Regions from separate parts of the Homo sapiens genome. Here all the other regions are linked to region 3. The links are contacts of gene promoters, found by promoter capture Hi-C in blood cells and fetal thymus (Javierre and others, 2016). All regions are on one chromosome and are shown on one strand. Each heading gives the region's core, a stretch centred on a gene start or on the middle of the fragment in contact. The rest is flanking DNA. Distances are from core to core; before and after follow the strand shown. Region 1 overlaps JADE3 (jade family PHD finger 3). Region 2 overlaps JADE3 (jade family PHD finger 3). Region 3 holds the start of RP2 (RP2 activator of ARL3 GTPase). Region 4 overlaps SLC9A7 (solute carrier family 9 member A7).

Region 1 (6,472 bases), core at 2,270-4,769, 200 kb after region 3:
AAAACGCATGTTTTTGCTGAAGTTTCACACCAGAACTGATTTGAGGACAATACCACAACCCACCCAGTATGAGGCCATTTGTAGTCCTTATCCATTTTGTTTAAATACTCATATATTTTGTTAGAGAACTATTAATGTGTTTGGTTATATGGTATTGCCCCTGGTCCCACTGGGGGCTTAGGTCATATACTATATATATATATATACTTTCCTAAGATCTGAGCAATTCTGAATTTCCTAATTTTTCTTACCCTAGAGGTTTCAGATAAATGATTGTGGATCTGTAGTAGGCTTAAAAGGAATAGCATAAAGGTCATCTGTATATATTTCCTATGTTTGTCCTTTACAGTTGGGACAAAATAGTAAGTATTCTCAGGTTCTTTAACAAACTCAAATGTAGCATAATTATCTCCAATGCTATTTATTAGTCTTAAAAACGATTCCGGTAATGAATATAAATGATACCCCTTTCTCACATAGAAAGAGATGAGATGGCAATAACTGACCAGACCTTGCAGTATGTAAACTGGTATGTATTAAAGCTGGGACATTGGTACCCTATAAAGTTTCACATAAGAGATTCTTCCAAAGTGAGTATATTTACTTGGATTCTAAAGAGATACTTGGCTTAGAGCTCCCTCTGTTGGCTGAAAAGTGACTTAAAATACCTTGGAAGATTTGGTTTACTCCCTAACAGAATGGGGACATGTTGACATCTGAATTTATTAAACATGATTTTTCTTCTTTAGTGACACCATATTACATTTCAGTGTTTGTTCCTCAGTGACAAAAAATACACTTATGTGTACTTTAGAAGAGATGTGTACATAAGTAGCCTTTAGATTTTAACAATGAATTTAACATTTTTTCTTTAAAAAATGTGAAAGTTGGGCCGGGCATGGTGGCTCACGCCTGTAATCCCAGCACTTTGGGAGGCCGAGGCGGGTGGATCACGAGGTCAGGAGTTCAATACCAGCCTGGCCAATATGGTGAAACCCCGTCTCTATTAAAAATACAAAAATGAGCTGGGTGTGGTGGCATGCACCTGTAGTCCCAGCTGCTCGGGAGGCTGAGGCAGAAGAATTGCTTGAACCCAGGAGGTGGACATTGCAGTGAGCCAAGATTGCGCCACTGCACTCCAGCCTGGGCGACAGAGTGAGACTCCATCTCAAAAAAAAAAAAATGTGAAAGTTAGGGCCATTCTAAATCCTTTTACATGTATCTATGATCTTATGACTGTGAGTAAGTCCACAAAAGGGCTCAGTAAATGATGTTCTGCCCTATAGACTGGCCAGGAGCTAAAGGATATTCCAAGAGCCAGTCACTGACCTGACCTCTCTTCTGCCAGTCTGAAAGAGACTCTATTTTAGGGAGGAAGCTTGCTTTCATTTCCTAGCAAACATTCTGGGCCTCAGACAAAGAGCTTTAAAGGTTAGAAACCTTATAAAATGATGCCTTGCTCTTGTGAGAGGAGCCTACCTAGAGTCCAGCTTCAGTTCTTGAGCTAAATACATTTGTTTTATCCAACCACCTACTCAAGCTCAGCATAGGGGGCATTCCAGGTAAATTGATGATAACAGCTCTACCTCTAGTGACTTTAAAATCTCATTGAGTTCTGTAGGCCAGGGTTAATTAAAAGAAAAAAAAATACTAAAAATGTCACTGAGGAGAAGAAACACAACAGCAAATGTAGAGAAAAAGAATACATGATGCTGGCCGGGTGCTGTGACTCACACCTGTAATTCCAGCACTTTGGGAGACCAAAGTGTGGATCACTTGAGCCCAGGATTTTGAGAGTAGCCTGGGCAGTATTGCAAAACCTCGTCTCTACAAAAATTAGCTGGGCAGAGTGGCACATGCCTGTGCTCCTAGGTACTCGGGAGGCTAAGGTAGGACGATTGCTTGAGCCCAGGAGGTTGAGGCTACAGTGAGCCAAGATCATGCCACAGCATTCCAGCCTGGGTGACAGAGCAAGACCCTGTCTCAAAAAAAATAATAATAAAATTAAAGAACACATGATGCTGACTATGTACTTGGTGAGGGAAATTGCATGGAGTGGAGGATGGGAGTCAGGCAGTGGGACAAACGCAAGGGGCTACAGTGACCTGAGCAGGATTTTTGGAGGGGCCTGGAGTTTGAACCGGGTCTGGAAGGGTGAGAAAGGTCCAACTATGCAAACAACAGTTGACCATGTAGAGCAGGGAAGCTGCTTAGACACATGGATGTGAAAATAAGAATGACCAGTTATGGAGAAAACCAGGAGGCCTGCCTGTCCAAGTCAGAAGCCCTGTGTTTGGGTATAGTGGGGCATGAGATCAGATAGTGAAGTACAAGGAACAACAGGCTTTAGATAAGGAACCGGCAAACTTTTTCTTTAAGGATCCGCTGTAAATATTTCAGTCTTTATAGCCACATACAGTCTCTGTTACATGTTCTTCTTCTTCTCTTTACAACCCTTTAAAAATGTGAAAACCATTCTTAGCTTGTTGGCTTTATAAAACAGACCTTGGAAAATAGCCAACCCCTAGTTTGGATAGTGGGGAGCAGGTAAGAGCAGAAGGAATATCTAAAGGGCTTGCCACTGTACAATGGTATGAATTCTTTTAGTGAGGAGAATCTGGCAGTCAAGTAGAAGAAGGGTTGAAGGCGTGCAGGGGGAAAAAGAAAATGTAGAAATTAATCAATCCAGGCATGGCATAATGAGAACTTGGATAGAGCAAGTGGTGAGGACGGAGAGGAACGTCAGAGTCTTGGGGCCACTGTAGGGAGAATAGCAAGTACCAGGTCAGCAGATGAAAGAAAGTGAGTAATACAAGTCTAGGAATTTGGATCTGGAAGATAGGAAGTATGGTGGTGACACGGAAAGAAGGAGCTTGGAAAAGGACCAGGTTGTGGGGGGACCGATATTATGGTAACTGTTATAACTTGAATCTGAGTTGAGGGTGAATCTCCTGAGGCAGACAGAAATTTTGAAGCTGCCATATTGAATCAGTTAGTCTCTAATAGAGTAGAGCAGTAAGGAGGAAATGATGGGCAAAATTGGGGATAGCAAAAAGGGAGTCTAGAATGTTTCCCAAACTAATCTCCAGTTTCTCACAGTAATTATTTGTCCAACTTCATTCCATAAAGGATTTGAAGCACCTTCCAGAACTCATTATGAATTATTGTGATTAGTGTAATATTCTATTCAAGATTCATTCACAAGTCCCTGTTTCTTCAACCCAAGCAAGCAATTGCTACGATTTACTGAGTACTTTTTATGCACCAGGCGTTAATAGGCTTTTTATAAACGTCAGTTCATTTGCTCCTCAGAAGTTTCATTCTCTTTATTTTCTAAAACTTTTTTCTTGATCACAACAGTGTATGACTTTTAGGAAATGTTCAATAAGTGTTTGACTAATTATAATACATAGTCATTGAAGAAGCTTTAGAAAACAGACCAAAAAATGCTGTAATCACAACACTCAGATAACAGTTGGGTTAACGGTTGGCTGTATCTCCTCGTCTTGTTCTATCATCCTTAAAGTCAGTTCTCATGGACAGACATGCTGATCTTAGGAGAGATGCTGGAAGTTGCTTTTTTGAGTATTTTTAAATCACTCGATACTGGATATAAGCTTGTTCGGCTTTATTTGCCTTTCTCCCAAAAGCAGAGGATACTCTGTGACTGTGTATCAGAACAGATACCAACCCTGGTGAGAAGGTGCTGACCATTCTCCCCTCTCCTCCTCATACCTCCAGGCCTGCTATGGCATCCTCAAGGTCCCAGAAGGCAGCTGGCTGTGTCGCTCCTGTGTCCTGGGCATTTATCCGCAATGTGTGTTATGTCCAAAGAAAGGTGGAGCCCTGAAGACCACCAAGACAGGGACTAAATGGGCTCATGTCAGCTGTGCCCTGTGGATCCCAGAGGTAAGAATTCATCCAGGCCCGTGAGACCATTTGCTCCAGGGTGTCCCTGTTCCCCACAGCATTCAGACTGACTCAGGCTCAGTATGGAAATGCTTCATGCTTGCCCATGTTTCTGAAGTAATAGTACTTCCACTTGAGCTACCTCAGATCCTTATTGGATGCACACTTGCATGTAAGCCCATGGTGATTAATATATAGGTGGTATTCCCAGTGGTATTTGGGATAATACCCGAATATATACACGATATTTGGGATAATACCCAAATATATACATGATATTTGGGTATATCATGTATAAATTGATAAATTTGTATGAGAGGAGAGACACAAAAGACCAGGGTGTGAGCAGCAGAATTTTTTAAGGTAAAACTTATATTTAGATGCCAAATTTTAAGTGTAGAGTTTTGTGATATTTTACACGTTTGTATCTGTAACCACAACTCAGACCAAGACATGAAATACCCTAAAAATAGACATAAAGCACCCCAGAAAGATCCTCTATACCCACTTTCCAGTCTCTATCCCCCAAGAATAACCACCATTTTTGTCTTGATCATGATAGATTAATTTTATCTGGTTTTAAACTTCATACAGTATGTATTTTTTTCGGTCTGGCTAACACTCCATGTTGTGGTGTATATCAATAGTTTATTCCTTTCTATTGCTAATATTCCATTGTATGGATATACTCTGATTTATTCATTTTCCTTTGATGGGCATTTGGGTTGTTTACAGGTTTAGGCTATTACAAATAAAGTGAGCAGTAACTCTTTGTCTACTGTGATGATGCCCTTTACTTTTTTATTTTTATTTATTTTATTTTATTTTTGAGACAGAGTCTCGCTCTGTCACCCAGGCTGGAGTGCAGTGGCGCTATCTCGGCTCACTGCAAACTTCACCTCTCAGGTTCACGCCATTCTTCTGCCTCAGCCTCCCGAGTAGCTGGGACTACAGGTGCCCGCCACCATGCCTGGCTAATTTTTTTTTTTTTTTTTTGGTATTTTTAGTAGAGACGGGGTTTCACCGTGTTAGCCAGCATGGTCTCGATCTCCTGACCTCACGTGATCCACCTGTCTAGGCCTCCCAAAGTGCTGGGATTACAGGCGTGAGCCACTGCGCCCGGCCGATGCCCTTTACTTTTTGAAGCTCTTTTTAGGGCTTACACTCAACACCTGCCAAAGACCTTCTTTACTCAAAATTCAATTTTTTATCATTATCTAGCCTGGTCCTTCAGTTGCTGGTATTTCCTGAGTGGCTACATGTACACTAACTTAATTAAAATGGGGCTTGAAGACATTTCTTCTTATGGCTGCCTTTTTTTTTCTTTAGCTGTGTGGATATCCCACTCATGCCCTCTCTCCCCAGCCACTATCCAAACCAGCAAATTTGTTAGGCAGTTTAACTGCATGACAAGAGAGACTGCAGAATCTAGTTAATGGGGAGCTGACATTATATCAGTAACTCATTCTCCTTTAAGATTTTCTTGTTTTTAATCTTGTTAATATTGGTTCCAGGGGAGTTATTGTCTAATAAAGAAGCTCAGAGTTACACTAAAAGTCCCATATATATACTTTTGTATTCCTATGGCTATAGACATCAGTATTTTAAAAAAATATTTGAATAGTAGTTTCTTTTTCTCACTAAGAACATCTAGACATAAAATAAACTCAGGTTTCTGGCTTGAGAATGACTGTTTTCCAACAGCAAATCCCTCAGCTAATAGAGTAGGCTCTCTCAGCTTATAAAAGTCCAGAACATGACTCAGGAAGAGCTCTTTAAAAACAAAATAGACTTTCTCAGTTATTGACATTCTCTTATGATTTCTAGTTCTTGGTTTCCAGTGCCTTCTGGACTACTCAAGATCTGTTAGTTTCCTGATGTGGGCAGAACCAGTACTAGTTTGGCATCCTTATTTGACAGTTCTTCACCTTTTAAAGCTGTATCTCTCTTAGAAACTCATGTATATATTTGGCGGGGTGGGGGGAATGAAAATACTTTTTACCAGCAGTTGCTTGACCCCTTATTTTCACATGGAAAAGAATATTTCCATCTTTTTAAAAAACATCCCTTTCTGCTGGGTGTGGTGACTCACGCCTATAATCCCAGCACTTTGGGAGGTCGAGGCAGGCAGATCACTTGAGTCCAGGAGTTTGAGACCAGCCTGGGCAACATGGCAAAACCCCATCTCTACTACAAATACAAAAAATTAGCCAGGTGTGGTGGTGCATGCCTGTAGTCCCAGATATTCAGGGGGCTGAGGCGGCAGGATCACTTGAGCCTGGGAGGTCGAGGCTGCAGTGAGCCCTGATCCTGCCACTGCACTCTAGCCTGGGTGACAGAGTGAGACCCTGATTCAAAAAGGAAAACAGAAAAAGCATCCCTTTTTTGATGGGGTTGTTTGTTTTTTTCTTGTAAATTTGGTTGAGTTCATTGTAGATTCTGGATATTAGCCCTTTGTCAGATGAGTAGGTTGTGAAAATTTTCTCCCATTTTGTAGGTTGCCTGTTCACTCATGAACAGACACTTCTCAAAAGAAGACATTTATGCAGCCAAAAAACACATG
Region 2 (6,068 bases), core at 2,509-5,008, 140 kb after region 3:
AAAATCTCAGTGTTTAAAGAAAGTTTATGAATGTGTGTTTGGTGGCATTCACAGCCGTCCTGTGCCACATGCAGGCTGCGGGTTGGACAAGCTTGATGTAAAGAATATTGATGGTGCAAGTGAGGTGCTTCTTTGCATGTACTTGGATGGAAAGCAAAGGAGTGAATAATTGTGGGGGAGGGACGTCTGGGAAGCTTCATCGAGGACATCCAATGAATGAATAGAACCAGGGTTGGGGAAAATGGGCTGGTCAAGGAAAACATGGGGAGGAATTGTAGGTAGAAGGAAGAGCCCTGTGCAAAGGCTGGCAAGCAAGTATGAAACAAGACGAACGTGTTCCCGGAATCACATGGGGCATAGTATATGCCAAACAATTGGAGTGGATTGGGGGGAACAGCAGTTGATGAGGCCTGAGAGACTGGGAGCCAGAACTGGGCCTCGCAAGCCATGCTGAGGAGATTGGGCTTAGAAGGGGCACCATTCTTGCTGTCATCCCTCCAGCCTGTCCTCTGGCTTCTGGATCAACTTGGAGTGCTCATTGTCAATGTACCTGACTGCCCCCTGGTGGCCATGTTGCTCTAAGCATGTCGCTTTAATGCTTCTGAGCCCCAATTTCCTCATCTGTAAAATGGCTGCTGCTGCTATGTGTAGGACTGTTGTTGTGCTTAGAAATAATAAATAGAGATATAAAGATTTACCATCATTGAATTATTCTGCTGATATTTATTGTTTTCTGTCATTTTCCTACAATAATTAAAACAGCAGTATGTCACAGAAATGGACAGACAAATCACTGGACTTTAAACAGCCCATACCCAAAAATTAACTTGCTTTGTTTTCTTTTCTAAAAGTCATTGATGACTCATTTTCTTATTTCCCAGGACTGGTGTAACTCGTATTAGATAATCTGTTTCCTAGGCTTTTTACTGATAATACAAGATTTTTTGTTTCCATCTATAATAAAAAATAGTTGTTACTGTAATTGTTTTAAAAATGCCAAATTTTGCCTATTCTTTAAAATCTCCCTCTGTCAAGAACAGTTTGATAACTCTTTTACTTAAAGAACAGAATATTATAGAAAATGGAGAAACTGTTTTATCCAAAGTACACATACCCAGAACTTCAGATGAGAGGAGTATCCATCTCACAAGAAGTCTTAGGTCTTCTGAAACTCTCAGGGAGGTGAGGAGAGAGGGTCCATGGTCAGTTGGCTTTCTTCACTGAGATTTTTAGAGAATAAAACTGTTTTTTCTATGACATTTGTTGCCCTTGATCCCATCATGAGTCATCCATATGGAGGTTATATTCAGTGGGAACATAAACTTTCATTTCTCTGGGATAAATGCCCAGGAGTGCAATTGCTGAGTCATAGTTGCATATTTAATTTTTAAAGAAATGACCGAAATATTTTCTAGAATAGCTATACTATTTTACATTCCCACAAGCCATGTACGAGTGATATAGTTTCTCTACACTTTCTCCATGATTTGATATTTTCACTATTTCTTTATTTCAGCTATTGTAATAATAAGTATGTAATAATATCTTGTGGTTTTAACTGGCATTTCCCTAATGGCTGGTGATACTGAATGTCTTTTCACGGGCTTAAATGCCATTTGCGTTCCTCTTTGGTAAAATGTCTGCTGATTTTTTTTTTTTTTTTTTTTTTTTTTGAGACAGAGTCTCGCTGTCACCCAGGCTGGAGTACAGTGATGCAATCTAGGCTCACTGCAACCTCCGCCTCCCAGGTTCAAGCAATTCTCATGCCTCAGCCTCCCGAGTAGCTGGGATTACAGGTGCATGCCACCACACCCAGCTAATTTTTGTATTTTTAGTACAGACGGGGTTTCACCATGTTGGCCAGGCTGGTCTCGAACTCCTGACCTCAAATGATCCGTCCGCCTTAGCCTCCCAAAGTGCTGGGATTACAGGTGCGAGCCACCATGCCCGGCCCATCTCTTGATTTTTAATTAGGTCATTTGTTTCCTTACTGTTGAATTTTTAGAGTTCCTTATGCATTCTGTAATATAAGTTCATTGTCAGATATGTGTTTTATAATAAATATTACATGTATAATATTTCTAAGAAATGACCAAAATATTTTCTAGAATAGCGATTCCTTTTTACATTCCCACCAGCAATGTATGAGTGATAGTTTCTTCACATCTTCTCCAGCATTTGATATTACACGTGTGTGTAATATGTGTAAATATTCTGTCCCATTCTGCTTGCTTTTGCGTCTTCTTAACAGGGGCTTTCTCAGAGCAGAAGTTTTTTTAAAAATATAAGTAGATAGTTTATTTGGGCCAAGTTTGAAGACCACAACCCAGCAGCATAGATTCAAGTTGCCCTGGATATGCTTCTGAGAGCAAAAGTCTTTAATTTTGATGAAAACACATTTTTCTTTGCCAATCATGCTTTAGGTATCAAGTCTGAGAACTCTTTGCTTAGCCCTAGATCCTGAAGACTTTCTCTTATGCTTTTTGTAAATATTTTATAATTTTACATTTTTCATTTAAGTCTGTGATCCATTTTGAGTTACATTTTGTATATTAGGTTGTGGTAGGCAGAGATGTCCGTGTCCTAATCTCTGCAACCTATGAATATGTTAAGATTGCTATTTAGCTGACTATAAAATAGGGACATTATCCTGGATTATCTGGGTGGGTCCAATGTAATTACATGGGTTCTTAAAAGTGGAAGAGGGAAGCAGAACAGAAGGGTCAGAGAATGAGATGCGATGACAGAAACAGGATCAGAGAGATTCAGTGTTGTTTGCCTTGAAGATGGAAGAAGACAGCCAAGATCAAGGGAGTAAGAGTGTCCTCTAAAAGCTGTAATAGGCAAGGAAATGAGTTCTCCCCTGTAGCCTCTAGAAAGGAACGCAGTCCTGATGACATCTTGATTTTAGCTCTGTGAGACCTGTGTCAAAATCCTGACCCACTAAACTATAAGATAGTAAATTTATGTAGTTTTAAGCCACTGAGTTTGTGATAATTTGTTACTGTAACGTTAGAAAACTAATAGGTGTTTTAGAAAAGCTTCTATTAAAATAGGATTTTATACATTTGGGTATACTGTGTATCTGAACAATTTTTATATATGCAACATCCCCATGATATCAGATAAATGAAGTGCTACTCTAAGTAGATCTGTGCATTCAGTGGGGAATAGTTAGAAAATGTATTACTTTTATTTCTGCTTAAATTTCTACATTCATTGTGACTTTAAATTCCCCACTACTACTTTTTAATAGGAAGTGTCTTGTTGTTACTGTTGGTTTTGTTTGCGTTTCAGAAGAGATTTGAATGAAATTTTGCACCAGAGAGCCAAATGTAGCCCCAAAAATTTATGTGATGGGAGGCTCTTTTTTAAAAATATTCAATTGACTTTGACTGTAGGACAAACAGAACCTTAGTTAATGGTTCTGATTCTTGTACTAATTTTATTAGTTTTTTAAATGACAGCTTTGAGATATAATTTGTATACCATGCAGCTTACCCACTTAAAGTATACAATTCAGTTATTTTAATATATTCACAGATATGTGCAACCAATCACCAAAGGACACAATATGTTTTCACACTGTCTTCTAATTTTGTTTCTGAGAAATTAGCTGTTAATTTTATTGGAGTTCTCTTGTAAGTGATGAGTTGTTTTTTTTCCCGGGCTGCTTTCAAGATTTTCTCCTTGTCTTTGGCTTTCAGTAATTTTACTATGAGGAATCTCTTTCTGGATCTCTTTGCATTTATCCTACTTGGAGTTCTTTGAGTTTCCTGAATATGTAAATTAATGTTTTTCAGTAAATTTGGGGAGTTTTTCTAATATTTTTTCTGCTCCTTTCTCATTCACTTTTCCTTTTGGTACTCCCATTATGTATATGTTGATGAACTTAATGATGTTCTACATTTCTCTGAGGCTGTTTCTTCTTCTTTTTTCCATCTGTTCTTCAACTTGCCTAATCACTGTTGACCTACTTCAAGTTCATTAATTCTTTTTTCTGCTTGTTCAATCTACTGTTGAGGCCCTTCAGTGAATTTTTCATTTCAATTGTGCTTTCATCACCAGAATTTCTATTTGGTTATTTTTTATACTTCCTATTTCTTTATTGATAGTCTCTGTTTTGTAAAATATTGTCATCATACCTTCCTTTACTTCTTTAATCATGGTTTTCTTTAGTTCTTCGAACATATTTATATGGCTAATTTGAAGGTTTTGCCTGTTAAATCTGACATGTGGTTGTATGGGTCATACTTTCCTGTTTCTTTGCATATCTCTTAAGTTTTTGTTGGAAACTGGGCATTTTGGATAATATATTGTAACAATTGTGGGTACTACCCCTCCACCAGGGTTCTTTATTATTATTTGCTTGTTTACTGCTTTAGTAACTGCCTGGATTATTTTATTGAAGTCTATTTCCTCAACCCCCATTCTCACCCTGCAGTATGAAGCCTCTAATGTTGCTCTTCGGGGGTACAAGCTTGTGTATGCCCACAGTCACCCTGGGATGACAGTGGGTTTGGTGAGGCTCTCCTTGGCTGTCTCTTTACTTGACCACACCATGCTGTTATGGTCTACTAATTGTTGACTGGTTGCTCTTGTTTTGTTTTTGTTTTTTTGAGATGGAGTTTCACTCTTGTCGCCCAGGCTGGAGTGCAGTGGCGCGATCTCAGCTCACTGCAACCTCCACCTCCCGGGTTCAAGCAGTTCTCCTGACTCAGCCTCCCGAGTAGCTGAGATTACAGGCGCCTGCCACCATTCCCAGCTGCTCTGTTGTTTTAATCATGTCCTGGAATATAAATTGCTCCACAAACTGATCCAATCAAATTAGGGCTCCTTTGAAGATAGTTCCTGAGATCTGTGTTTGAGATTTCTTCTGACCGCAAGAGGCTCTTTCCCTGCTGTCTCTTTCTCTGGTTCTCTCTGGCATATTAGGCAGCCTAGGCTTGAACTTCTGTACACTCAGTTGCAAATGAAGTCAGTTTCATTGCAGGAGAATTGAAGCCCCCTATTCTATGCCCTGCCTCTCTCCCTGGGAAAAATCTTTGAGCCACAGCTCTGGCGCAGTGGATGGAGATAAATGGTGAGCTTCCCTCTGAGTGTCAGCCCCAGGTCTCCCAGGTTTGCCTCTTCTGGTATAGAACCCCCACCCCACAAGGTAACGCCAGAGCAATCAAGGCTCTGGTATTCTTGGTGGCACAACACCCAAGGCATAGCCTCCATCCCATGAGTTGGGGGCTAGGTGGAAGAAGGGAGCCCCCACCTCTCAGCCACATTCTCCTGGAACGTAGCCTCAGCAAAAGTAGCTGGGAACGGGATAAGAGATGCCGACATCCTGTTCTTCCCAGGAAGAAAGGAGCTTGGAGCTGGGGTAGAAGGAACCCTGTGTTCTTGGCTACTGTACTCTGGCATGAGATCTTTGCTGGGAGGGAAGATGGAGGAAGTGGTTCTAGATCCAAATACTGCAGACTTTGACTTTACTTTATGAATTTTAGTAGATTTTCTCGAATAAGTACTTCATTTGCTGTATGCCCTTAAAACCATTTCCAGAGACTTTAAATGGTTGGTTTTTTTTTAATTGAAATAACTTTCACCAATTTTGCTGGGAAGAGGGTCGTCCATGGAGCTGCTCACACTGTTATGCCAGAAGTGGAACTCTGTGAGCTTTTTAATGTAAAATTTTGTTGCTGCTATTCTTAATTGCTCAGAGTGGCCTTGTATTTGGATTTCTACCTCCTCAGTAGATTGTAAATAGCTTGAAGGCAGTAGCCCTGACCTTTATTCATTATGGAATCATGATAGCCCCTGGTAGCATGTTGTATGTTGTGGCACATAAAAGAATGTCAGTCACTGGCTATATTGCTGTCTTTTCAAGTTTACATTTTCAGCACTTCGTTTGTGACTTAAAGTGCTTAACTGTGTCTTCCTTTTTTCTTACACTCCAGTGCTAGTGTGTTCCCAGAAGGGTGATGCTTCTTTTTTATCTGTCATTGGCCATACTCAGGGAAGTACACTTGAACCGTTGGAAGTTTTAGTCCAAAGCATTTTTATTTACCCTTCACAATATA
Region 3 (6,078 bases), core at 1,458-3,957:
CACTCCAGCCTGGGTGATAAAGCGAGACTCTGTCTCAAAAAAAAAAAAAAAAAAAAAAGTCAGAGGCTCATTTAGGATACAAACTAGATGTGAATAAGTATGGGAAATTTAAAAGATAACCAAATTTGAACCTGAAGTGATCAGCATTTGATATCCTACTGAGATGTCAAAATACTGTTTCTCAGAGAAACTGACTTACCTTTCTTTTCTATTACATAGGCAATGCATGTGTATTGCAGTAAAATTCGACCCAAGTATAACAAATGTTTATATTTAGTGTATATATCTTTAAATATATTCTGACGAACCCTATGCCATTTGCTTAGAACAGATCTGATCGTTCATATGCAATGCTTATGTCCTCAACGAGGCTATAAACTCCATGAGGAGAACCCCTTTACCATAAATCCACATGCCTCCCACCCCCACAGTTTGGTCACTTTCTTTGGGAAGGGATGGGGGAAGTTTATAAATGCTTCCTTCACTAGCACCCATGCATGCATTCATTCATTTGACAAACGTTGTATTGAGCACCTAGTATGGACTTGGGCCAGGTGTAGGAGATTCAAAGGTACATCCCTCCCCTCAGCTTTCCTCCCCACTGCCTTTTTTTTTTTTTTTTTTTGAGACGGAGTCTTGCTCTGTCGCCCAGGCTGGAGTGGAGTGGCGCCATCTCGGCTCACTGCAACCTCCGCCTTCTGGGTTCAAGCTATTCTCCTGCCTCAGCCTCCCGAGTAGGTGGGACTACAGGCGCCCGCCACCATGCCCGGTTAATTTTTGTATTTTTAGTAGAGATGAGGTTTCACCATATTGGCCAGGCTGGTCTCGAACTCCTGACCTTGTGATCCGCCCGCCTTGGCTTCCCAAAGTGCTGGGATTACAGGCGTGAGCCACCGTGCCCGCCCCCCCCGGCTCTGGTTTTTTTTTTTTTTTTTTTTTTTAGACAGAGTCTCCCTCTGTCGCCCAGGCTGGAGTGCAGCGGCGCCATCTTGGCTCACTGCAACCTCCACCTCCTGGGTTCAAGCAATTCTCCTGCCTCAGCCTCCCGAGTAGCTGGGACTACAGGCACACGCCACTACGCCCGGCTAATTTTTGTATTTTTAGTAGAGACGGGGTTTCACCAGACGGGGTTTCACTGTGTTGAGCAGGATGGTCTCGATCTCCTGACCTCATGATCCTACCGCCTCGGCCTCCCAAAGTGCTGGGATGACAGCCGTGAGCCACCGCGCCCGGCCCTGCATGCCCTTTATGACATACCTTTTAGGCCAGGCGCGGTGGCTCATGCCTGTCATCCCAGCACTTTGGGAGGCCGAGGCGGGCAGATCACCTGAGGTCAGGAGATCGAGACCAGCCTGCCCAACATGGTGAAACCCCGTCTCTACTAAAAATACAAAAATTAGCCGGGCGTAGTGGCAGGCGCCTGCAGTCCCAGCTACTCTGGAGGCTGAGGCAGGATAATCACTTGAACCCGGGAGGCGGAGGTTGCAGTGAGCCGAGATGGCACTGCTGCACTCCAGCCTGGGCGACAAGAGCAAAAACTCCATCAAAAAAAAAAAAAAAAAAAAAAGATATACCTTTTTGATCTCAAGAAAGTCACAGTTCAAATAGGGAAACAATACACAATTAACTATTTTACTAAGTACTTGTGCAATTTTAGAGCCATATGTGAAAGTCTTAAGAAAACACAGAAGCAGCCTGGGGTGCGGTGGGTCCTGCCTGTAATCCCAGCACCTTGAGAGGCTGAGGCAGGATGATCGCTTGGGCCCAGGAGTTCAAGACCAGCCTGGGCGACATAGCAAGACCCCATTTCTACAAAAGTAAAAAAAAAAAAAAATAGGTGGGCATGGTGGTGCTTGCTTGTAGTTCCAGCTACTCAGGAAGGAGGCTGAGGCAGGAGGATCGCTTGAGCCCAGGAAGTCAAGGTTGCAAAGTTGCAAGGTTGCAGTGAGTTATGATTGTGCCACTGCAGCCTGAGTGACATAGCGAGACCCTGTGAAAGAAAAAGAAAGAAAGAAAGAAAGAAAGAAAGAAAGAAAGAAAGAAAGAAAGAAAGAAAGAAAGAAAGAGCACAGAAGAGGATTGGGAGGTTATGGGGTACAATTCTTGAGGGGGTGACCCTGGCCAGGCGATGAGAGGGCGGTAGGAAGGGTGATGAGGGGAGAAGAGGATTTAGAAATACAAATTTCAGGGTCTTCTTGTGTCAGCGGGAATTTCTGTCCCTCACAACTTTCATCATAAGATAAATCTAATGTTCAACTAGAGATCTCTCCCGCGCCTTGAACTTGCAAATTTATGAATCAGGGGCAAAAAAAACCCGGATACCGAGCCTGGCCTCCCACCAGCTAGAGAACCCACCAAGTTCCAGGAGGGGCGGGGCCGAGGGCGGTCCGTGCCACAGCTGTGGGCGGGGTTGTCCGTGCTTGCGCCAGAGCCGGCCCGCCCCGCCGCCAGGGGCTGTCGCAGGAGCCAGGCGTGGATTGGTATGTGGGTATGTCGGCCTCTCTTCATAGGCCGCGCAGGATTGCTCGAGAGGCTTTGATTGGCTCAACAGGCGCTGAGCGTTCATTGGCTGCGCTGGGTCGTCAGGGCGACGAAAAAGGGGAAGGGGTGCTGGGCCTGGCGGGCAAACTAAGGCTGCGGACCGTTGGGCGGTTCCGCGGGGCGTTGTCCGGAGAGCTGCGAGGCCGGGGTTCCCAGGGTTCACGCCACACTCTAGGAAGTGCCTGAGCTAGTGAGCTGGCCAACGAGCTCCGCGGGCTGGGACCATGGGCTGCTTCTTCTCCAAGAGACGGAAGGCTGACAAGGAGTCGCGGCCCGAGAACGAGGAGGAGCGGCCAAAGCAGTACAGCTGGGATCAGCGCGAGAAGGTAATGAAAGTCGTGTAGCCGCCGTCTCAGCCTCCCTGAGCCGCTCCGCCAGGTCCCTTACGGCCCGGGACCGCTGAGGGGGCCGACCCAACTGCTGCCGCACTCTCTTGAACGCGGATAGCTGAAGTCGGGGTGCACGACTTTTTTGGGGAGCGGGGACGTGAAGTACAGCGCTAGAGAGGCCGCCCAGAGGGCTGTGGAGCTCCGGAAGGAGCCTTAGGAGTTTGTTGTCGTGGTAGACAGACTCCCCCGGGAGCTTTCTCTGACTCCGAACCCTGCCTTGCTCTGACTTCCTGTTGGAGATGATCGATTCGAGAGAGGGAAAGAGCCGAGAACGCCCTGAATCTCAAATCACCTCGTTTCACCCACCGGCAGCGTCAAGCGGGGTTTTGTCCAGTCGTCGAGTTACGTATATGGGACCGATTCTCATCTCTTCCGGGGCTTAATGTTCTGTGGCTGTTTTCTCTTTTGTCTGCCCTCCCCGGCAAATCTCTTTGGTGCCTCATGATATATTTCACTGCTGAATTTTCTCAATTACCAAGTGGACTGTTTAATGTACAGCTTTACTCCCCCTCCTCTTCCAGTTATCCGAAAGAAATAATGAATATCGCATCAGTCTTGGAATGTGTATTAAGACTGTAAGGTGAAAATAAGCGGCATAAACCAGGCAGTATTTTACTGCTGGTTTAAATGAATGAAAACGCCCTTATTTTTATTTTTGTATATAGCCAGAAACGAAAAACCTTTGAAAACCTCCATTAGTCTTACACAAAACACACTCGGTCATACATTTCATAATAGTTCCTCTTTCTACATAGTTCTCCATTTGTGCTTACTAAACTACTTTGATGGACTTATCAATTATTTCTCCCAAACAAAATGAGAGATTTTTCAAATGGGTATTATGAACAGTTAACTCTTTGCTTAAGGCAACATATCTTTACCCAAGATTACTTTATAATAAATGTATTAACGTTTTGGAATCACAGACCTTTCTGCATGATTTCCAATCCCCAGCAGAATGTATTCAGGTAAGCTCTGGTCTCTAAGAGTCAGAGTTAGGAAATTGAAAGCTTTTTGCAGCTTTTCTCAGCCCCGTCTTTCTGCCCCTACTTCTCATACACACCCTTCTTGGGTCACATGGTACCTTTATTCTCTGTTAGTCATACTCGATAGTAGCATTTTATAATGTAGGGGAAGAAAGTACTATGCTTTCTATTTCACAAGAAGATTGCACCTGCCATTTAAAGTTATCTGATGGGCGGTTTTTAAAAGATATTGTTTTCCTCAGCCTTTGGCTTTCTAACAATGTTCTTTTAGCTTGAATTGTCTGCCTTAGAGAAAGTTGCATATTTCATTTTTATTTTAGTTTTTTCTTTTGAACTCAGGCTAAATCTAAACTAAATAAAATGCCTTTTTTATTTATAGTAGTCTTGGCTGCCTATGACTCATCGTTTCACAATAAATTGTTTTACAGTTAATGTTTATTAACATAATATTCAGGTTAGTTAGGACTTCTCATGTTAATCCTTCTTTTAGATAAGTGTGTGTGTCCTGTGATTTTTTTTCTTCTTTTGCCCATTGGCTAAGTAAATGCATTGAGAAATATAACATTGGACACCAACATCTAAGCTTTTTCCCCACAAATGAGTGTGTAATAAACTTTCAATTGTAGAAACTGTTTTGAGCTTACAGAGAACCTTTTTTTTTGAGAACACTACTAAGTTCTGTAGTTGTAGAGTTGTAAGAGATGTTATTGGATATATAAAATAAGCTCATGCTTCTGAGTGTGTGTATAATAAAAGTTAAAATCTTGATCAACTCAGCCAATCAAAATGAGAATTTCTAACCAAATGAGCATTCTGAAAAAAACCCCAGTTTTAAAATATTTTGGACTGTTGAAGAGAATTACCAGCTTACATTTTGAGACAATGCAGATACCACATTTCCCAACATAGCTTTTTCTTTTTAGTTTTTTTTTCTTTTGGAATTACTAGGAATTCTTTCTAAGTTGCCTCATTTTGATAGCTTGTTAAATTTTATACAATTTAAAATATTTTTTTCTAGGGCCAGGCATGGTGACTCATGCCTGTAATCCCAGGACTTTGGGAGGCCAAGGCTGGTGGCTCTCTTGAGCCCAGGAGTTCCAGACCAGCCTGGGCAATATGGCGAAACCTCATTCCTACTAAAAATACAAAAATTAGTGGGGCATGGTGGTGCACACCTGTAGTCCCAGCTACTCAGTAGGCTGAGGTGGGAGGATCACCTGAGCCTGGGACTTAGAGGCTGCAATGAGTCATGATCGGGCCACTGCCCTCCAGCTTGGGCAACAGAGTGAGACCCTGTTTCCAAAAAAAAAAAATAAATAAATAAAATATTTTTTCCTAGTTCCTTGCCTCCCGTGAGGTTAATTTGGGCTAGTGTGCAAATGTTCTGTATTAGTCCAATGATACGTTTACTGAGCATGGCCTTGCTTGCTCCTAGAAGATTTCAGTTGTACCTTAAAAGGAACAGATTGCAAATACAGCCCAGAGAACATAAATGAGATATGATGCATGCATATTAATAGAAATGATTTATATTAAAAGTTTAGGCTTCTGGAATGTGGTTATGGATTATAGCATATACAGTTTTAAAGTTATATCAGACAATTACCATTCAACTTGTAAGACTTTTACATGTAAAAACAAAATGGGTTGCCTGAAAAATTTCCTTGCAGCTTAGAAAAGGGTGTTTACATTTTTCCTTAGGTTGTGTAATCAGAGTATCTTTTTTTGATGTTTTCTTTTTGAGATGGAGTCTGGCTCTGTCATCGCCCAGGCTGGAATGCAGTGGCGCGATCTCGGCTCACTGCAACCTCTGCCTCCTGGGTTCAAGCGATTCTCCAGCCTCAGCCTCCTGAGTAGCTGGAATTACAGGCGTGCACCACCACGCCTGGCTAATTTTTGTATATTTTTAGTAGAGACAGGGTTTCACCTTGTTGGCCAGGCTAGTCCTGAACTCCTGACCTCAGGTGATCCACCTGCCTCAGCCTCCCAAAGTGCTGGGATTACAGGCGTGAGCCACCGCTCCCAGCCCAGAGTATCTTTATTGAAGGGCACCCCTTGGGTTTTGGGGTTTGAGTTGTGTAATTGGGTCAGTCTTAGGGGACTGAAGCTGGGAGAAATTGTCTCATTTAGAAGGAATGTCTGGGGACTAAGCATTGTCATAG
Region 4 (6,649 bases), core at 3,326-5,825, 210 kb before region 3:
CATTTCATTCCATTCTTATATAATATTAAAAGATGTTTTTAAAAGATAAGGTCATTACACTAATAAGAACAGCTTACTTTTTTTTTTTTTTTCAGGGATGGAGCATGTGGTAGGCAGAATAATGGCCACCCCACCAAAGCTTTCTACAGCCTAATCCCTGGATCCTGTTACACTACCTGGCAAAAGGCTTTGTGGATGGACTTAAGGTTATCCAGGTAGGCCCAGGACAATCACGTGGGCCCTTAAAAGTGGACAAGGAGGGCCAGGCATAGTGGCTCACGCCTGTAATCCCAGAACTTTGGGAGGCTGAGGTGGGCAGATCACTTGAGGTCAGGAGTTCAAGACCAGCCTGGCCATCATGGCGAAACCCGGTCTCTACTGAAAATACAAAAATTAGCTGGGTGTGGTGGCACACACCTGTAATCCCAGCTACTCAGGAGGCTGAGGCACAAGAATTGCTTGAACCTGGGAGGTGGAGGTTGCAGTGAGCTGAGATCACATCACTGCACTCCAGCCTGGGCAATAGAGCAAGACTGTCTCTCTCTCAAAAAAAAAAAAAAAAAAAAAGGACATGGAGGGCAAAAGAGTCAGAGGAAGGAATGCAGTAGAAGAAAGGGCGGGAGAGATTCAGAGCTTGACTTGCCCCACTGTTGCTGGCTTTGCAGCAAGAACACAGGACCTCAGTCCTACAACCACATGGAACTGAATTCTACTGACAACCTGAATGAGCCTGGAAGTGGCTTCTCCCCAGAGCTTAGCCTTGCCAACACCTTGAAAAACTTGAAGCAGAGAAACCAGCTGAGCCCACCAGGTATCTGATCTACTGAACTGTAAGGATGACAAAACTGTATTGTTTTGGCTGGGCATGGTGGCCCATGCCTATAATCCCAGCACTTTGGGAGGCCAAGACAGGCAGATCACTTGAGCCAAGGAGTTCAAGACCAGCCCCAACATGGTGAAACTCTGTCCCTTAAAAAAAAACAAAAACAAAAACAAAACTTTATTGTTTTAAGCCACTAAATTTGTGGTAATTTGTTACAGCAGTCACAGACAACTAATATGGAGCAGAAGAGTAAATAAATGATGTCACTTGATTTGGGCCTGATATGCTTTTTTTCTTTTTCGGACATGGAGTCTCGCTGTGTCACCCAGGCTACAGTGCAGTGGTGTGATCTCGGCTCACTGCAACCTCCGCCTCCCGGGATCAAGCGATTCTCCTGCCTCAGCCTTCCAAGTAGCTGGGATTACAGGTGCCTGCCACCATGCCCAGCTAATTTTTGTATTTTTAGTAGAGATGGGGTTTTGCCATGTTGGCCAGGCTGGTCTTGAACTCCTGACCTCAGGTGATCCACCTGCCTTGGCCTCCCGAAGTGCTGGGATTACAGGTGTGAGCCACCACGCCCGGCCTGGGCCTGGTATGTTTGGGCTCTGTGTACCCCCACAAGTCTCATCTCAAGTTGTGATCCTAAGCGTTGGAGGTGGGGCCTGGTAAGAGGTGGCTGGATCATGGGGGCAGACTTCCCCCTTGCTGTTCTTGTGATAGTGAGTGAGTTCTCACGAGATCTGGTTAAAAGTGTGCGGCACTTCCCCCTTGCTCTCTCTCTCTCCTGCTCCGCTATGGTAAGATGTGTTTGCTTCCCCTTTGCCTTCACTATGATTGTGCGTTTCCTGAGGCCTCCCAGCTATGCTTCCTGTACAGCTTGCAGAACTATGAGTCAATTAAACCTTTTCTTCATAAATTACCCAGCCTCAGGTGGTTCTTTATAGAAGTGTGGGAATGGACTAATACAGGGCCTTTGTCATATCATTGGGATAATGGATCCAAGATTTCTCAGCAGAGGGTAATAATAGGGTTTAGAAACAGGGAATCAGCCAGGCAGTGGGCTCATGCCTGTAATCCCTGCACTTTGGGAGGGTTAAGATCACTTGAGCCCAGGAGTTTGAGACCAGCCTGTGCAACAAAGCAAGACCCTGTCTCTAGAAAAATATTTTATAAATTAGCTTGGTGAAGTGGCACACACCTGTGGTCCTAGCTACTCAGGAGGCCGAGGGAGGAGGATCCCTCGGGCCCAAGAGGTCAAGGCTGCAATGAGCTGTGATTGCACCACTGCACTCCAGCCTTGGCGTCAGAGGGAAACCCTGTCTCAAAACAAAACAAAAAAAAAACCAGAGTCAAATCTCTGACCGTGATACACAGATAGTTTTCTTCCCTGCTTAAAACTCTCCAGAGCTATACATTGCCTAGATCAGGGCTTTTCTAATGGTAAAATGTACACACATTCCCTGGAGACACTGTTAAAATGCAGATTCTGCTTCAGTGGGGCTGGTGAGGCCTGAGTGTCTCCACTCTCTTGCTTCTGCCACTCTCCACCCTCACCCTTTATCACCTTGTCACCAAGCCCTTCAGGATGCAGATTCATCTACCTTGTTGCAGATATTTTCCCAGAACCTGAAAGAATGCCTGAAATAGAACAGGTGCTCAATAACTATTTGTCAAATAAATGAATAAATTGATCTTGACTCTGAGTTTTTAGAAAACAGAAAAGGAAGAGCAGAAAGGGAAATCAGGGGCCAAGGGAGGCACTTGGAAGCACAAAAAAATGGGCGGGTTGGGGGGGGGGCGGTGGTCACAGAGTAGCAACTGGAGGAAAGGCACCTCTGCAACTGTTTGAAGTTAAAGATTTAGGTGACAGATTTACGGGTATCAGATTTCAGCCTGGAGAAACAAAAACAAACAAAAAAAAACACGGAGGACCCAGAAACAAATGATTCTAACTTGCTCAGAAAGTCATATGTGAACGCAACAATAAACTGCTGATTTTCTACAGTTTTCACTACATACACACAGACAGACACGCACACACGTGTGCATATACACAGGCATTGGTGGTTTCCTTTCCTCCACACTCCATTAATATCCGGCTTGTGACCTTGTCCTGTTGATATGGTGAAACTGGGATAAATTCAGATTCACACTCTTAGCTGCTCCAAAGTGGCCTCATCAATGAGTGCTCTTCTGTAAACTCAGGGAAGGAAGTGAATGATGTGTCTGCATGTACGGCCAACAGAAATCTCAGCTGTCTGGTCTGGCATGAAAAGTCCCCTGCTTTATCGGGGTGGGAGGCCACCCCCAGGGCTGGGCAGCTTGCCTCCAGCTAGGGTTGTTTTTGTTTTGGTTGCAAAGTCACCAAGACCTCCAGAGAAACAAAGCACTGAGTTTTGTTTTTTGTTTTTTGTTTTTTTTGTCTTGTTTTGTTCTAATGAGTCAAACTTACCAGGGGACACAAAGCTGAAGTCTGCCCACAATATTTTTATGCTTTCCCCACATGAAGCAAAGTTCTAGCCAACAGCTCCCTTCCTTTTCCCACATGAGCTAATATTCTGTAGCTCCCTAGCCATGACTCTGTTTATAGCCTTGGGCTTCAAGACCAGTGAGGAGAATTGTGCTCATTATAAGACATGCCTTCCCATCAAATGTCACTTTTTTGTTTGTTGTTTTTAGGAAGATTATTTAGAAAATGAGGTAAAGAGAACCGCCCTTTTTTTTCTCTGGTGGAGAACAAACATCTGGACTTTCCCTACCTCTGATTTCAGTTTCATGACAACACTGAGCATGTGACCTGGATCTATTTCAGGGGAAACTGCAAGAACCCAGGGTTTCACCCAAAAATGAGAAGCCCATTTATTTCTGTTTTCCTGTTTCTCATGGCCACAGAGTGCACTGAGCCCTGCTGTTAGTGGCTCACTAGAATGAGGAGGTCAGACCAGGAGGAACTGGAGAAATAAGGTCCTCTCTGCACAAGGGCGTGAGTCATTTCTAAGAGGGTGTCCTGGAGAACCAAGCTTGAAGTTTGCATGTTTTTCCCCATATGACAGCAATCTTGAAAACCTTTCAAAAGGTCAGTGGAACTGACTTTGAGGGGCCCTCTGCATGACTGTGTATGAGGTCTGGAAGGAAGGAGGTCAGGGGGAAGCTGTGACACAGCTTCTGGCTAGGGCTGTGGCAAACAGGGTGCCATTAGGAGTGCAGCGCGAGTGGCTGCCAGCCCGTTCACAACACCACATGTGCGGTGCTCTCAGCCCAAGGGGCCCTCTGGGAGCTGACAGGAACACTGAGTTCATCCATCCAGGCCCATCCAGGGAGGTTCCTGAGACTCACTCCACCTGGGGGTGGGGGCTATTTTAGCTGTTACTGCATGGACTAAATACAAGAACCCTCAGCACTTTGGACCTGCTGCTTTCTCACTCAAACATTTCCACAGAAAAGTGACAGTAAGCTTGTTACTGAATCTAATTACAAGCCCAGTGTTCCCAGTGCGCAGGGCTCATGTGATACATAGTAAGTTCTACTACATGACCAGCCAAATCCTTTCACTTATTTCCTGTTACAGATGCTTGAATGCAGAGGTAGGAGCAATGGGAAACAGCAAAGGGGGTGGGGATGTTTTGAATGGTCCAGAGCAAGATGAAATCTCTCCAAATCTTATGATCCAGCTGCTATTGGCCTTTTTTTCTTACAAAATTAATCTAGACTGGCCACAGTTCTGTGGAGGATGCTTTAGAATAGGGCAGCCATGTCCTACCAGAGCCATTATCTTTCCTTTGGTGAAATAAGGACGGCCATCATGTTTTCCCCTGGGGTTTTCTCAGGCTGAGTTTCAAGATCTCCCAAACTGTTATACTCTAAATTAGCCTCGAGGTGCTCAGTTCCTGAACTCCTGTTTTCTAAAGTCCTTAATCAAAGCTAGAGTCAAATAGCAAATTTTCAAAGAGAACTCACTGAGACCACATGCTCCCAACTGACATAATGGCCAATTCTAAGATCATCTCAAAGGTCTTCTGGAGCTCATTAAAGTGGGTGCCAAATCTCCAATGAAGCTTATTGAAAACTCTTCCCAAAATGTCCAGAACTTTCCAGGTCATGGCTTTGTGTCCCTTGAGCAGGGACCTAGAATGGACATCAATGCTATAAATGCCTTATCAGGCTGTGGCCACCCTTAAAGAGAAAGAAACCACAAAAGGCCACAGTGGCACCCCATTGACCCCACACAGCACCACATTTTGCCAGCCTTATTAAATCTGATTTGGTAGATGGAATCATTTAGAAGATCCTATGGAATGTGAAGTCTGCTGCAGACTGCTGCAGGATTAAGTGCAATGATGAGTCAGATTCAAAGCTGACTGGAAAAAAAAGAATAGGGTTTCATGGACAACATACACAGGTGGTCAGTAAAGCTGCCTGTTGCATGCTGCATCTCTCTCATTCCCTCATCCACCCAACAAACACCTATCAGGTTCCTGCATGTGCCAGCCACTGTGCTCAGCACTGGGCATTCAATGCTGAACGACATAGTTATTGACTCCCAAGGTCAAATAATATATTGGTAACACATTTCTGCCCCTATCATAACTCTCCTTTCCCCACCTTGCCTGCCCAGGTCATGCTGACCTGGATAAAGAGCCAGACCTAGAGACAAAATCATCCCGACAGCTGCACAACAGGGATGATATGGCAACCTCAATTCTTGTCTGTAAATTTGTTGATACTCTTCCCATCCAGAGGTTATGGTCTCTATCCCCTCCCATTGGGTCTGGGCTGGTCTTAGGAATGCATTTCTAAGCAATAGAAAGCCACGGAAGTGATGCTGTAGAACTTGCAAGATTAGGTCAGAAAAGGTGATATAGCCTCTACCTTGCTTGCTGGGACACTTGCTTTTGGAACCTTAAGCCATCACATAAGAAATCCAACTACCCAGCAGCCACCATGCTGGCAGGCAGCTCAGGCCACATGGAAAAGCCCTGCACAGACATTCCTGTCAGAAGTCCTTGTGGTTGGGTCCTTCCAGCCCAGGTGCCAGACATATGAGTAAATGAACCTTTGCATGATTCCAGCCCCAGGCTCCTGGTTTTCCCACCTGGGGCCGTGGACTTCATGGAGAAAAGGCAAGCCGTCCCTGCTATGCCCTTTCCAAATTGCTCACCTAGAGGATCCCAGGCCCTGGAGAAACAGGAATGCCTTCAGGCACCTGATGTCTCTCCTTTCTTCCTCAGATCCCTGGGCTGGAGAGTCAAATCGTATTGCTCTCTTTCTCCTGGGCACCACTGATAGACTCGGAACCAGTTGTAGAACCAATATCCACTATTGAAAAGTGGAGAGTCAGGGACTCTTTCTGGCGAGCCCACACCCTTCATAATGTTGATTAAGAACACATACCCTGGGGACAAATCCTGGCTCCATCACTTATTCTGAGATGACTCAAACTCCCAAACTTCAACTTTTAATCTGTAAAATGGGGAGAGCAGTACACGCTTCATAAGGCTGTTGTCAGGATCACATTGAGGGAATCTAGGTAAAGTGCCTGGCATGTGGCGAATGCTCAAATGTCTTCCCCAGGAAGAAGCATCTCTTGTGACTTACCCCTTGTAAGACTTGAAAGCTGTCGTTGTTGGGTGGTGGGTCTTGATCGGGGTCAACACCAACTCTGAAAGTCACCAGGGAGAAAGACAAAGAGAAAAACAGAGCGTATTAGCTTGGCCCATGGTAGCCATGCAGGCTGCAAGTAGCCTGGAGGCTAATCATCTTCCCGAAGCATAAGGAGTGGTTAGCTAAAAGGTGAGGAAAGCTGTCATGCAGAAGTCATAAGAAAGA

What was found. The method cuts DNA at HindIII sites, captures the fragments that hold promoters and counts their contacts. A CHiCAGO score of 5 or more calls a contact.
Region 1: a contact is called between a fragment that was not itself captured here and the fragment with the promoter of RP2 in region 3, in 1 of 17 cell types (total B cells). The highest score is 5.4, in total B cells.
Region 2: a fragment that was not itself captured here is called in contact with the fragment with the promoter of RP2 in region 3 in 1 of 17 cell types (naive B cells); the score reaches 6.0 in naive B cells.
Region 4: a fragment that was not itself captured here is called in contact with the fragment with the promoter of RP2 in region 3 in 1 of 17 cell types (monocytes); the score reaches 5.2 in monocytes.

The regions. Positions count from the first base shown.
Region 1 is chrX:47,029,880-47,036,351 of GRCh38, forward strand. JADE3 (jade family PHD finger 3) reads left to right here. Exons shown (of 11, transcript NM_014735.5): 7 at 3,742-3,909. Among named protein-coding and RNA genes, the nearest start is that of RGN, 45 kb to the right of the region's middle. The HindIII fragment of the contact is 192 bases long and covers 3,424-3,615 here.
Region 2 is chrX:46,978,227-46,984,294 of GRCh38, forward strand. The region is part of intron 1 of JADE3 (jade family PHD finger 3); the gene reads left to right. Among named protein-coding and RNA genes, the nearest start is that of JADE3, 69 kb to the left of the region's middle. The HindIII fragment of the contact is 1,439 bases long and covers 3,040-4,478 here.
Region 3 is chrX:46,834,336-46,840,413 of GRCh38, forward strand. It overlaps RP2 (RP2 activator of ARL3 GTPase), which reads left to right and starts at 2,708. Exons shown (of 5, transcript NM_006915.3): 1 at 2,708-2,867. The coding sequence starts at 2,766. RefSeq lists a silencer at 2,310-2,389 and an enhancer at 2,700-2,839. The HindIII fragment of the contact is 11,862 bases long and covers 1-3,938 here.
Region 4 is chrX:46,625,168-46,631,816 of GRCh38, forward strand. SLC9A7 (solute carrier family 9 member A7) reads right to left here. Exons shown (of 17, transcript NM_001257291.2): 14 at 6,419-6,482. It overlaps LOC124905182 (a long non-coding RNA gene), which reads left to right. Exons shown (of 2, transcript XR_007068222.1): 2 at 96-1,739. Among named protein-coding and RNA genes, the nearest start is that of CHST7, 55 kb to the left of the region's middle. The HindIII fragment of the contact is 601 bases long and covers 4,276-4,876 here.